Linked DNA regions of Homo sapiens: all the other regions are linked to region 4. The links are contacts of gene promoters, found by promoter capture Hi-C in human tissues and cell types (Jung and others, 2019). All regions are on one chromosome and are shown on one strand. Each heading gives the region's core, a stretch centred on a gene start or on the middle of the fragment in contact. The rest is flanking DNA. Distances are from core to core; before and after follow the strand shown. Region 1 holds the start of ISOC2 (isochorismatase domain containing 2). Region 2 overlaps SSC5D (scavenger receptor cysteine rich family member with 5 domains). Region 3 overlaps LOC105372462 (a long non-coding RNA gene). Region 4 holds the start of DNAAF3 (dynein axonemal assembly factor 3).

Region 1 (3,287 bases), core at 666-3,165, 300 kb before region 4:
CTGGGGTTGGGTGGACTGCTGGGAGGTGCCTCGTGCCTGGGATTCTCAGGGGATCCCCGAGGGTTGGGGGACCAGCTCCCCATGAGGCCAATCACAACCCAGCCCAGAACCCAGGACAAGCCAGAGGCCCCTCCACGACGGCTCTACAGCCCTCTCCAGGAGCCCCCAACCTGTCCACTCCCTTCCTGGCAGCCCCTGGGAAAATAAACCAACCCAGACCCCCACTTCAGACCACTGCCTCAGGGGTCTCCTCCTGGGCCCAGGGGCCCCACCTCCACCTCTTCTTGCTTTCCTGCCTTCCCCCTTCCTTCTGCCTAGCCCCATCTGGGCATCCACCCCTCACTCTCACCCAGGCTCACCTCTGCCTAATGTCTGCTCTCCTGTCATTTATTCCCAAAGATGTATCGAGCGCCTACTATGGGCCAGGCCCAGGTCTAGGACTTGAGGATTCAGCTGTGAACGAGGCAGACGGGACCCCTGCCTCAGGGAGCTCCCTGTTCTGTGTGCATGTGTGTGTTTTGGCGGGGAACAGACAATAAAAGAGTATATCCATGCATTTTTCAAAAAGCAAGATTCATTTCCAATTCAGATTGGAGTTAGTGCTGAAAAGAAAATAAAACACAAGGCCGGGTGCGGCGGCTCACACCTGTAATCGCAGCACTCTGGGAGGCCAAGGCAGGCGGATCACTTGAGCCCAGGAGTTCAAAACCAGCCTGGGCAACAGAGTGAGACCTCCATCTTTACAAAAAAATTAAAAAATTAGTCAGGTGTGGTGGCGCATACCTGTGGTCCCAGCTACTCAGGAGGCTGAGGTGGGAGGATCGCTTGAGCCCGGGAGGTTGAGGCTGCAGCAAGCTGTGATCGTACCATGGTACTCCAGCCTGGGTGATAGAGCAATTTTTTTCTTTTTTTTGATGTTTCAAAAAAATTAAAAACAGCGACCTGATGGAAGGGCTACCTGACACCAGGTGGTCAGGAAAGGCTTTGAAAGCCTGGAAGGTTGGGCCATGGGGAGTCCTAGGATTCCAGGCTGAGGCAGCACACGTGCAAAGGCCCTGCGGTGGGACATTGAGGGAAGAGCAAGAGGAGACCCCTGTGGCTGGAGCGGAGTGAGCAGGGGGAGTGGTGAGAGGCGAGGTCTGCACGGACCAGGAAGGCCGACCATGAATTGGGAGGAGTTTGGATTTATTCCAAGACAGATAGGAAATTCTCTCTTTCTCTCAACCTCCATTTCCAAGCACAGAGTCTAAATTATTCTAAACACCACCCGAGGAGGCAGGTGCTGTACAGATGGGGAAACTGAGGCAGCACAGAGCGCAAAGGACAGGGGGGCGTCAAATTCCTCACTTGATCGCTCCCTCAGCCAGCCCCTTCCTGGAAAGTGCTTGGGTATCTTTGTAAGCCTCCGTTTCTTGAGAGAGGGCCAGGTTTCGAACCGCAGACATGCCTCTACTCTAGGTAAGACCCCTCTCTCTCTCTCCCGGCCTCGGCGGTCTGCTCTGTGCAATGGGGCCGGCCGAGACGCCCTCTCTCCAGCCAGAGTCTGAGCCTTCGGAGACCACCGCGCGACTCCGCCCCGTCGGCCGCCACTCACGCCCTCTACGGCTCTCCATTGGCAGAACGACCTGCTGCCCCGCCCCCACGGCGCCTTTGCGAGCTAATCATTTTCTTGAGACTGACAGCCTTGCCGGCACCGCCCCCCCTGGGGCGGGAGCAAAGCAGCTGCATATGCGGATTGGTTGAGAGGCAGGGGGCGGGGTGAGTTGGTGAGCGCCGATTGCGGGCAGAGGCAGTGGCACATGCGGATTGGCCGGAGAGAGCGGCGAGGCAGAGCATGATGAGTGTCGATTGGACGGCTGGGCCCAAGTGGGCGGAAAACGGACGGTGCAGGGGGTGGGCCACGTGTCCAGCCCTAACGAAACGGTAACCAGCCCTGGGAAGCCCGCAAGAGGCCTCAGCGGTGGCCGTCCGAGAGCCGAGAGGTGAGGGTGCCCCCGCCTCACCTGCAGAGGGGCCGTTCCGGGCTCGAACCCGGCACCTTCCGGGTAAGTCCTCTCTCGCTGCTGGCGCTATTTGGAGACCGACCTTACCGCCTAGCAGATGGGGAAACTGAGGCTCTGCCTGGGCGTCCCGGGCCAAGGTCACAGGACCAGAAGGAGGACTCCACCTGGCCCCGCCAGAATTGGCTGGCCAGAGATTGGAAGCGTCCCCGGGTCGCGCCTGCCGCCTCTGTAACAGCGCTGGGGGGTGGGCAGGTTTAATCCCCATTTCTCCGACGAGAAAACTGAGGCTAAGACAAAGAGAAACTTGCCCAAGGTCACACAGCCAGGAAGTCCGGGCTCCAAGGCCGGGTTTCCGAGACCGGGTGGGGAAATCAACGGCCCTACCCCGCCCCCTGTTGCCGCCCACCTCCAGCCACGCCCCCTTTGGCCTTGGGTACCCTCCACCCAGGCTGAATCTCTCCTCGTTCCGCAGGACACGCCCAACCCTCTCCAGCCCAGACCTCCCCTTCACATCTCTCTCTCTCACACACCCACCCTCACCCCAATTTTTCATCTCCCAAAAACCAGTTCCCCTCCCCGGGATCCCCTATGAATCTTCAGATCATGCCCCTCGCTCGACCAGAAACTGGGGGCCTTTCTCCCCGACTTTCCCCACCGTCCCAGCTGCCCCTTCCTGACTCTCCCCTGTCCCACTGGGCCCCAGCGCCGACCTCCTGCTCTCTGGCCTTTTGCCTCCAGTTCAACCGCACGGCGGGGGCCTGAAGCCATCTTTGTATTTTGCATTTTGAACACTTTTTCTGGAATAATACCACAAACGCAGAAAATCGAACGGTTTGCAAATACACAGCTTAAATAAATATTTATAAAGGGAGCACCCTGGTGTAAACAAGTATCCAAAGAAAAAAGTCAAACATGCGCCACATCCCAGGATCTCCCGCCGTCGTCGTTTCCATCACTGTGGTCCAAGGGCAGTCACTGTCCTGGCTTCTGACGCCATAGATCAGTTTTGCCGGGTTTTGGCTTTATGCCAACCCTTTATTGTATATAGTATTGACTAGACAACTTGTTGCACATTGTCCAGAATTCAGAAGAAACAGAATAGGACCCAGTGAAAAGGCTCCTACAGACTTCCCCGGTGCCTGGTTCACCCGCCTGAGTCTCCCGTTTCTTGCTTGTTTGCCAGAGATAGCAGATATAGATATAGGCAACACAGACACATTTTCCTCTCCCTTTTTTCTTTGGCACAAAAAGGAGCATTCCATACACACTGTTCTGCTTCTTTTT
Region 2 (3,090 bases), core at 128-2,627, 350 kb before region 4:
GTGGCTACCAAGCCCTTGAAATGCGGCCAGTGTGAATGAGAAACTAAATGTTTCATTTTCTTTTATTTTATTTTATTTTTTTTTTTGAGACGGAGTCTCACTCTGTCGCCCAGGTTAGAGTGCAGTGGCACGATCTCGCCTCACTGCCAGCTTTGCCTCCCAGGTTCATGCCATTCTCCTGCCTCAGCCTCCCGAGAAGCTGGGACTACAGGCGCTCGCCACCATGTCCTGCTAATTTTTTGTATTTTTAGTAGAGATGGGGTTTCACTGTGTTAGCCAGGACGGTCGCGATCTCCTGACCTCGTGATCCGCCCGCTTCGGCCTCCCAAAGTGCTGGGATTACAGGCGTGGCCACTGCGCCCGGCAAATGTTTCATTTTCAAAGTGTTAATTCATTTAACTTTTTTTTTTTTTTTTTTTTTGAGACGGAGTTTCACTCCTGTTGCCCAGGCTGGAGTGCAGTGGCGCGATCTTGGCTCGCTGCAATCTCCGCCTCCTGGGTTCAAGTGATTCTCCTGTGTCCACTTCCTGAGTAGCTGGGATGACAGGCATGTGCCACCATGCCCAGCTAATTTTTTTGTATTTTTAGTAGAGATGGGGTTTCACTATGTTGTTCAGGCTAGTCTTGAACCCCCGACCTCAGGTGATCTGCCTGCCTCAGCCTCCCAAAGTGCTGGAATTTCAGGCGTGAGCCACCATGCCCGGTGCTCTTAGCTACCGTATTGAACCACACAGATCTACAGATTTCCACTTGTTCCTGCAGGGCAGGGTCTTTCAGGCGCATCCCTTCCCCACCTTGTCCTTTGTTTGCAGGATTGGAGAAGCGGTTAAGTAAAGGGCTTGTGCTCAAGGCAGGCTGTCCGAGTTTAAACCCCAGCTGCATGGCTTCCTAGCGGGGTGACCACGGCCAAGTTACTTCACTGCTTGAATCTCAGTTTCTTCCTCAGCTATAGACTGTGGATGATCCGCGTATCTCCCTTGCAGAGCTGTCAAAAGGACTCAGGGAGACCATGGTTGTGCAAAGCACTTAGTGTAATGTCTAGCATGGAATAAGCACTCTAATAATTATTGATGTCAGAGTCACTGATGTCTGTGCCTCAATTTCACTCATCTGAGAAATGGGCAAAATTATAGATCTACGTCATGGAGCTCATGCAGATTTCCTTCCCTCCTTTCTCCCTTCCTCCCTTCTTCTCTCTCTCTCTTTTTTTTTTTTTTTTAACAGAGTCTTTCTCTGTTGCCCAGGCTGGAGTGCAGTGGTGCGATCTCAGCTCACTGCAACCTCCGCCTCCCAGGTTCAAGCAGTTCTCCTGCCTCAGCCTCCCGAGTAGCTGGGATTACAGGCGCCTGCCACCACACCTATTATTATTATTATTATTATTATTATTATTATTATTATTATTATTATTATTTTGAGACAGAGTCTCACTCTGTTGCCCAGGCTGGAGTGCAGTGGCGCAATCTCGGCTCACTGCAAGCTCTGCCTCCTGGGTTCACGCCATTCTCCTGCCTCAGCCTCCCGAGTAGCTGGGACCATAGGTGCCTACCACCACGCCTGGCTAATTTTTTGTATTGTTAGTAAAGACAGGGTTTCACCGTGTTAGCCAGGATGGTCTCGATCTCCTGACCTCGTGATCTGCCCGCCTCAGCCTCCCAAAGTGCTGGGATTACAGGCGTCAGCCATTGCAGCCAGCCTAATCATGCTTAACTTTACTAAATACTGCTGGATTGTCTTTATCAAACAGCTCTGTCCAGTGGGGTTGCCTGTCTTCCCACATCCTCACTCACACTGGATAATACCCACCTTTCTCATTCTCCTCTGTACTTGCCATTGTTTTAATTTGTATTTTCTGGTTCCTGATGAGCGTGGGCATTTCTAAATACACTCAGCCATTTGGGCTTCCTTTTCTGGGAATCACCTGTTTTCCTCTTTCTCATCTAGGGTTTCCTATCATTTTCCTATTTGTCACAGTGACTTATGCCATCTAGGCTGGGGTTTCTCAACCTCGGTACTATTGTAATTTAGGGCTGGGTGGTTCTTTGTTATGGGGAATGTCGTGTGCATTGTGAATGTTTATCACCACCCCGGCCTCTACCGATCAGGTGCCAATGGGTAGCCTCTCACTTCCTGCCATGACAATCCAAAATATCTTCAGATATTGCCAAATTCCCCTTGGGGGCAAAATCGACCCTAGTTGATGACCAGCGGTCTAGATAATAACCTCTTGGTTCTGTTTTTGTCTTTATTTGAGACAAGGTCTCGCTCTGGCACCCAGGCTGGAATACAGTGGCACAACCACAGCCTCGAGCACCCAGGCTCAAGGGATCCTCCTGCCTCAGCCTCCCAAGCAGCTGGGACCACACGTGCGTACCACCACACCCAGCTAATGTTCATATCTTGGGGGGCTCACCATGTTGCCCAGGCTGCTCTCAAACTCCCGAGCTTAAGCAATCCTCCCAACTCGGCCTCCCAAAGTGCTGTGATTACAGGCATGAGCCACCATGCTCAGCCGATAACCCTTTGTTTTAGGGTATATTTCTGCTGAGTCTTTCTGGGGTAAGGGTTCCAGTGGGGAGTCTGGAATCTGTCTCTTTACCCCAGGACAAATACCGTCCCAGTCTCCTCACCCCAGCCACGTGTCTCACCTGTGTCTCCATGGACTCTCAGAGTTGGAGGACTGCCTGGGCTCCTGGTGGTGCCAGCCCCAAGAGTTGGTCCTAGTTTGCCTGCGGTAGGGGTCCCCTCAGCCAGGCCCCTTCCTGATGGTGTGTCCCACGTCCAGGGAAGCTTGTAACCATCTTTGCTGCCTAGAGAGATATGGGGAAGAGGATTGAGTCTTCCAACTTCCCTTTGAGTTTGACTCCCCGTCTCTCTCCTCCTGGGCCAGCCCCAGTTCAGGCATCATCCCGTCTCAACTGCACCGCCACTGCAGCCCTACCTGACCTCGTGGAGACCTTCTCCATTCAGCTGGGATGTTTTTGGCTACCAACGACGGAAACGGTCACTAAACTAGCACATAAAATGAAGGGCATTTGGGCCTGGCGCCGTGGCTCAAGCTTGTAATCCCAGCACTTTGGGAGGCTGAGGCAG
Region 3 (3,476 bases), core at 699-3,198, 260 kb before region 4:
CTTTAACAACCAGGGCTTTGGGGCTACTTGTTACTGCAGCCTAGCATAGCCCATTCTGGCTGACAGGGTTGCTTATGGAGAGGGGAACTGGATGGCTGGGGCTTTTTACTTCTAAATGCCCTTTTGCACTTCTGGATTTTTGTATCGGCAAGTGTACTCTCTACTGTTTTGTTTTGTTTTTTAGACAGGGTGTTGCTCTATTGCAGAGGCTGGAGTGCAGTGGTGCAATCTCAGCTCACTGCAGCCTTGATTCCCCAAGTGATCCTCAGCCTCCTGACTAGCTGGGATTACAGGTGCCCACCACCAGGCCCCCAGCTAATTTTTGTATTTTTACTAGAGACGGGGTTTCGCCACATTGGCCAGGCTGGTCTCGAACTCCTGACCTCAGATAATCTGCCCACCTCGGCCTCCCAAAGTGCTGGGATTACAGGCATGAGCCACCATGCCTGGCCCTACTTTTTTTTTTTAATAGAATTTTTAAATTCTGCAGCAGGAGAATCGCTTGAACTCAGGAGGAGGAGGTTGCAGTGAGCCAAGATCGCTGAGATCGCCAAGATCGTGCCACTGCACTCCAGCCTGGCTGGCAGAGTGAGACTCTGCCTAATAAATAAATAAATTAATTAATTAATTAATTAACAGAAAAGAAAGAAAAAAGAATTTAAAAAAATATAAATGTAGAGATGGGAATCTGGCTATGCTGACCAGGCTAGTCTTGAACTCCTGACCTCGAGCGATCCTCCCACCTCAGCCTCCCACAGCGTAGATTTAAATGCAAATGGTGCAGACTTTGCCTGCCATTCCCCTCACTAAGCATATGCCAAGACACGTGAGAGAGATGGGCGACTGGAGTCTCATTCCTCTCCCTCAGAGGGTGATTAGCTTCCCACTCTGAATCGGAACTCCAGTGCTTCAGTGTATGTATTTTCATTCCTCATGGATGCCACATGCCAGCCAACGGATTCATTTGTGTTCAACAAGAGAAGAGCAATCTGCTCCACACCCACTGTGTGCAGGGCGGGCAAGTCAAGGATAAGATCTGACATGAGCATTCTGCCTTCAGTGTTCGCCTTTGTCACCTAACACTCGCTCAACTGGCAACCCGACTGTGCCAATAAATGCAGCCTCTCAGCAGCTATTCTTAACCCGCATTTGAAGGGTGGGCTTGTGAATGTCTCAAATCTATGCCAGATGTTGTGTGCATGCTTTTTCATTTCACTTTTCTTGACTTTATATTTTGAAATAATTTCAAATGTACAGAACAGTTACAAGAATAAGTCAAAGAACTTCTGTGTCATTTTCACCAACTCACCATTTGTTACCATTATATGACATCATTGTATGGTTTTCTTTCCATATAAATATTCATCTCGGCTGGGCACGGTGGCTCATACCTGTAATCCCAACACTTTGAGAGGCCGAGATGGGTGGATTGCTTAAGCTCAGGAGTTTGACATCAGCCTGGGCAACATGGTGAAACCTCATCTCTACCAAAACAACAACAACAACAACAAAACAACAACAACAACAACAAAATATATATATATATATATGCACACAAAAAATTAGCTGGGCATGCTGGCATGCACCTGTAGTTCCAGCTACTCAGGAGGCTGAGGCGGGAGGATCGCTTGAGCCCAGGAGGTAGAGGTTGCAGTCAGCCAAGATCACACCACTGCACTCCAGCCTGGGCCACAAAGCCAGAACCTGTCTCATAAAAAAAAAAAAAAAAAAAATGCCGGACATGGTGGCTCATGTCTGTAATCCCAGCACTTTGGGAGGCTGAGGCAGGTGGATCACCTAAGGTCAGGAGTTTGAGACCAGCCTGGCCAACATAATGAAACCCCGTCTCCACTAAAAATACAAAAAATTAGCTGGGCGTGGTGGCAGGCGCCTGTAATCCCAGCTACTCGGTAGGCTGAGGCAGGAGACTTGCTTGAACCCAGGAGGCAGAGGTTGCAGTGAGCCAAGATCGTGCCATTGCACCACAGCCTGGGCAACAAGAGCAAAACTCCATCAAAAAAAAGAAAGAAAAAAAAAAGCCAGGTGCAGTGGCTCACCCCTGTAATCCCAGCATTTTGGGAGGCCGAGGCGGGCAGATCACGAGGTCAGGAGATCAAGACCATCCCGGTTAACATGGTGAAACCCCGTCTCTACTAAAAATACAAAAATTAGCCAGGCGTGGTGGTGGGTGCCTGTAATCCCAGCTACTCAGGAGGCTGAGGCGGGAGAATCGCTTGAACCTGGGAGGCGGAAGTTGCAGTGAGCCGAGATCGTGCCATTGCACTCCAGCCTGGGTTACAGAGCGAGACACCTTCTAAAAAAAAGAAAAAAATCGTGTTTTTTTTTTTTGGAGATATTTGGGAGTAAGTTGCACCTATCACATCCCTTTACCCCTAGAGGCCATTCTGAAGAACAAGGCCACTCTCTTACACATCCACAGCATAATTATCACACTCAAGAATTTAGCATTGACCAAGTCCATGTTTGAATTGCATCAAGCGTCCTGCTACTGTCTTTCAGAGCAGCTTTCAGTTTGTGACACTCCAGGATTGGGTGTTGCATGCAGCTATTGTGCTTCTTGAGGTGGCTTCTTTTTTTTTTTTTTTTTTTTGAGACAGAGTCTCGCTCTGTTGCCCAGGCTGGAGTGCAGTGGTGCGATCTCAGCTCACTGCAAGCTCCGCCTCCTGGGTTCACGCCATTCTCCTGCCTCAGCCTTCCAAGTAGCTGGGACTACACGTGCCCGCCACCAAGCCTGGCTGATTTTTTTCTATTTTCAGTAGAGACGGGGTTTCCCCATGTTAGCCAGGATGGTCTCGATCTCCTGACCTTGTGATCCGCCCGCCTCGGCCTCCCAAAGTGCTGGGATTACAGGCATGAGCCACTGCGCCCGGCTGAGGTGGCTTCACTCTGAAACAGTTACTCAGTCTTTGTCTTTCTTTTCTATTTTTATTTTTTATTATTGCACACAATTCACGCAGAGATTAAGGAGATGTTTTTTTTAAGAGAAGGGGTCTCACTATGTTGCCCAGGCTAGAACTCCTGGGCTCAAGTGATCCTCCTGCCTCAGCCTCCCAAAGTGCTGGGATTACAGGTGGCAGCCACCACGCCCAGCCCAGTCTTTGCCTTTTTTAATGCTGATTTTTTAAAGAATCCAGGTAGGCCATTTTATAGAATATGCCTTGCATTTAGGCGCATCTGATGTTTCCTCATGATTAGATCTGGGTTACATGTGTGAGACAGGAAAACCACAGAAGGGATGCCAGAGTCTCAGCGCTTTGGCTGAAGGAAGCCCATGCTCTCATGCTTCCTGAAGTTCATGTGCTCAGAGCTCATATGCTCTGAGTGCACTCCACCAAGGCTGGAGTGCAGTGGCACCAACGAGACTCACTGCAGCCTTGGCCTTCTGAGCACAAGGGATCCTCTCACCTCAGCCTCCTGAATAGCTGGGATTACAGGTGCACACCAACATGCCTGGC
Region 4 (3,320 bases), core at 452-2,951:
AAATATATATACATATATTTGTATTTTATTTTGTGTGTGTATATATATATATATACACAAAATAAAATACAAATACAAAAATTAGCTGGTGTGGTGGCAAATGCCTGTAGTCCCAGCTACCTGGGAGGCTGGGACAGGAGAATCGCTTGAACCCGGGAGGCGGAGGTTTCAGTGAGCCGAGATCGCGCCACTGCACTCCAGCCTGGGTGTCACAGCAAGACTCCATCTCAAAAAAAAAAAATGTCACTCTGGTTCCTTTGCTGAGAATTTGTTGGGAGAGTGGGAGAAATAGGGAGGAAAGGCATTAATTCTCCAGAGAGAAACCCAGGATCTGGGGCTCTTGCAGGCTTAGAGCTGGCCTGGAAGGGGCTGGTTAGCCAGCCTGATTCTGCAGGAATGTCTGAGGTCTCAACCTTCGTTTCCCCAGTAGGTATTGTCTTCCCAGTGCCCAGATCTGCCCTCAGGAGGCAGATCCGCTGCACCTCTGCCCGCTGCACGCTACATTCCCATTTCACAGAGCAGCAGACTGAGGCTCAGAAAGGGTGACTGGTCTAAGCTCATGTGTCTGGGCAAGGAGAGGAGGCAGAGAGCCAAGTCCCCTTGGGCGCTGAGCCCAGTGCTGGGTGCTGGGGTGATCTAGAGATGTGCCTCATTCAGACTTTGGTTTTTCTTTTTTTTTTTTTTGAGACAGAGTCTTGCTCTGTCGCCCAGGCTGGAGTTCAGAGGCGCGATCTCAGTTCACTGCAACCTCTGCCTCCCAGGTTCAACAGACTCTCCTGCCTCAGCCTCCGGAGTAGCTGGGATTACAGGTGCGTGCCACCACGCCCGGTTAATTTTTGTATTTTTTAAGGTCGAGGCGCGGTTTCACCATGTTGGCCAGACTGGTCTCCAACTTCTGACCTCAAGTTATCTGCCCACCTTGACCTCCCAAAGTGTTGGGATCACAGGCGTGGCCACAGCGCCCGGCCGACTTACCCTTATTTTAATGCAGTTGATTTAACTGTACGATTACAGAATTTACCTGTAATTTTTTTGTTCATGTCAGAAGAGTAATGTGCCGATGTCGTAACAAGGTTTGAGGGAGGCACATCTCACGCATGCGCGTGAACACCCAATCATCCCGCTTAGAAACTACAAAAGGATCTAGCTGTAAGTTTAAATTATGGCTTCGTGTAACAATAACCAGCTCACAAATCCCTGAATTTTTAATGACCTGCACATCAGTGTCCCACCTGTGGGCTGTTCTGTGTGGTAGAGCCCACGTTGTGCTGGGGCGGGGAGCGGGCTCAGAAGCCTGCCATCTAAAGTCTAGACACTTCACTTTATTTGAATTGATGAAAATTCCGTTACGTATGAGCAAAGGCATATGAAGAAAACAAAAAAACAAAAAACAAGAAATAAGATTAAGCTCCCTTCACTCTCAATTTTAATCAGCCCAGGCCTCCCCCATTCCAGAAATTTGGACCGACCCTGACTCCGCCCCAACCTGTTCTAGCACCGCCCCTTCCCCCGCCGGCGCCGTCGTCATGACAACCGCGTCCACACGCCCTCTTCTCCTAGGTGTGGGGGAAGGCTGGCCCTCAGTGCTCCCATTGGCCAAAAGTTTGTAGAGGGCGGGCCTCGCTCACTCTCATTGGTCAGTTGCTCGCTGTGGTCCCATCCCACATGCTTCCATTGCTTGATTCCTCGAAAAGGGCGGGGACTCTGGGCAGCGGTTGTGGAGTGCCGCGGGTCCACAGTGCTGCACTGAGCAGAGAGGAAGGGGCGTCCCGGGATATTTGGAGGATAAAGGTGTGGGCAAGGTATCATGTGGAGGCAAAGGGGCGAGAAGTGAGGGGCGGTGAGAGGGGAGCGGGGCGGGCAATGTGTGCGATTCCCAGAATGTCTTTTCCGCAGGGTGATGACCACACCTGCCGGCTCCGGCAGCGGCTTCGGCTCCGTGTCCTGGTGGGGCCTGTCCCCGGCGCTGGACCTGCAGGCTGAAAGTGAGTCCCAGCACGCAAGGTCTGATACACCGTCTGCCTTCCCAGCCTGAGCAGACGGCCTTTTAGAGCTCGTAGTCCCAGCGTCGGTGGCAAGGGGGGCGCTAACGTTCTCCAACGCTCCAGCGGCAGAGGGCGCGCTCCCAGGGGCAGCCCCGAGGTCCTGTCTGCGGACTGCGAATCCCAGAATACTCAGAGGAAACACCTCCCCTTAGAACCTAGGCCACGGGCGGAACGCCTACTGGGATTTGTAGTCCATTTTTTATAGGGGATGCTACGGTGGACGCTCTGCCAACCACCATGGTGCCCCAGCCAGCTGTCATCTTGCCAGGTCCTCCTGTGGACCCAGACTCCCAGGCCGATACAGTGCACAGCAACCCCGAGCTAGATGTGCTGCTTCTGGGCTCTGTGGATGGACGGCACCTGCTGCGGACCCTGTCCCGAGCGAAGTTCTGGCCTCGCAGGAGGTTCAACGTGAGCTGGGATGAAGATGAGAGCCCAGATTCCCGAGTCCTTGAGGGAGGAAGGGATTGAAATTCTAAAACCTCAGGTCCAGGAATGAAGGGGCTGGAGACTCCTAGATCTGAGGGAGGCAGAAGCTGGGAGCGAACCGATGCGTCTTGGGGGAAGGAAGGGGCTGGGGTTTGGAACTCCTGGGTTCTATAGTGGGGAAGAGCTCGAGGATGAGGTCTTCTGAGTAATGGAAGGGAAGAGAGCTCTGGGGACACAGACTTCTGTGTTTGAAGGAAGAGGCTGGTGTACAGAACTCGGGTGTGTGGAAGGAGAGAGCTGAGGGCCTGCTCTCCTGGGTCTCCTAGGACCCAGGCAAACAGGTCTCAGAATTATTCTGCCCTGTCCATCCTTCTAGTTCTTTGTGCTGGAGAATAATCTGGAAGCTGTGGCCCGACACATGCTGATCTTCAGCCTAGCCCTGGAGGAACCGGAGAAGATGGGGCTGCAAGGTCTGTTGCTAGGACCCAGGCATTCTGACCGCTGGTCTCCTCCCCCTCCCTAGAGGGATTCTGGCATTTCAATGGTACAATTAAAAAGTTTGGTTATTTTCCTGGGAGGCGGAGGTTACAGTGAGCCGAGATCGCGCCATTGCACTCCAGCCTAGGCAACAAGAGCGAAACTCCGGCCGGGCGCGGTGGCTCACGCCTGTTAATCCCAGCACTTTGGGAGGCCGAGGCAGGAGAATGGCGTGAACCCGGCAGGCGGAGCTTGCAGTGAGCTGAGATCGCGCCACTGCACTCCAGCCAGGGTGACAGAGCGAGACTCCGTCTCAAAAAAAAAAAAAAAAAAAAAAAAAAGAGAGCGAAACTCCATCTAAAAACCAAA

Evidence for each region. The method cuts DNA at HindIII sites, captures the fragments that hold promoters and counts their contacts. A contact is called where the count stands out against the background at its distance.
Region 1: the fragment with the promoter of ISOC2 here is called in contact with the fragment with the promoter of DNAAF3 in region 4 in 1 of the 25 tissues and cell types used here (mesenchymal stem cells).
Region 2: a contact is called between a fragment that was not itself captured here and the fragment with the promoter of DNAAF3 in region 4, in 2 of the 25 tissues and cell types used here (dorsolateral prefrontal cortex and lymphoblastoid cells).
Region 3: a fragment that was not itself captured here is called in contact with the fragment with the promoter of DNAAF3 in region 4 in 5 of the 25 tissues and cell types used here (IMR-90 fibroblasts, dorsolateral prefrontal cortex, lymphoblastoid cells and 2 more).

The regions. Positions count from the first base shown.
Region 1 is chr19:55,460,270-55,463,556 of GRCh38, reverse strand. It overlaps ISOC2 (isochorismatase domain containing 2), which reads left to right and starts at 1,915. Exons shown (of 6, transcript NM_001136201.2): 1 at 1,915-2,045. C19orf85 (chromosome 19 open reading frame 85) reads left to right here. Exons shown (of 2, transcript NM_001386794.1): 2 at 1-556. The coding sequence ends at 85. RefSeq lists an enhancer at 1-530. The HindIII fragment of the contact is 25,257 bases long and covers 1-3,287 here.
Region 2 is chr19:55,512,728-55,515,817 of GRCh38, reverse strand. It overlaps SSC5D (scavenger receptor cysteine rich family member with 5 domains), which reads right to left. Exons shown (of 14, transcript NM_001144950.2): 13 at 2,646-2,807. Among named protein-coding and RNA genes, the nearest start is that of SBK2, 23 kb to the left of the region's middle. The HindIII fragment of the contact is 4,152 bases long and covers 1-3,090 here.
Region 3 is chr19:55,421,278-55,424,753 of GRCh38, reverse strand. All of the region lies in intron 2 of LOC105372462 (a long non-coding RNA gene), which reads right to left. Among named protein-coding and RNA genes, the nearest start is that of UBE2S, 15 kb to the right of the region's middle. The HindIII fragment of the contact is 5,851 bases long and covers 1-3,476 here.
Region 4 is chr19:55,164,994-55,168,313 of GRCh38, reverse strand. DNAAF3 (dynein axonemal assembly factor 3) reads left to right here and starts at 1,701. Exons shown (of 12, transcript NM_001256715.2): 1 at 1,701-1,791; 2 at 1,897-1,985; 3 at 2,314-2,456; 4 at 2,851-2,944. The coding sequence starts at 1,901. DNAAF3-AS1 (DNAAF3 antisense RNA 1) reads right to left here. Exons shown (of 4, transcript XR_007067345.1): 4 at 1,410-2,495. LOC124904795 (small nucleolar RNA U13) reads right to left here and starts at 1,143; the gene lies at 1,040-1,143. RefSeq lists a silencer at 2,090-2,321. The HindIII fragment of the contact is 9,836 bases long and covers 1-3,320 here.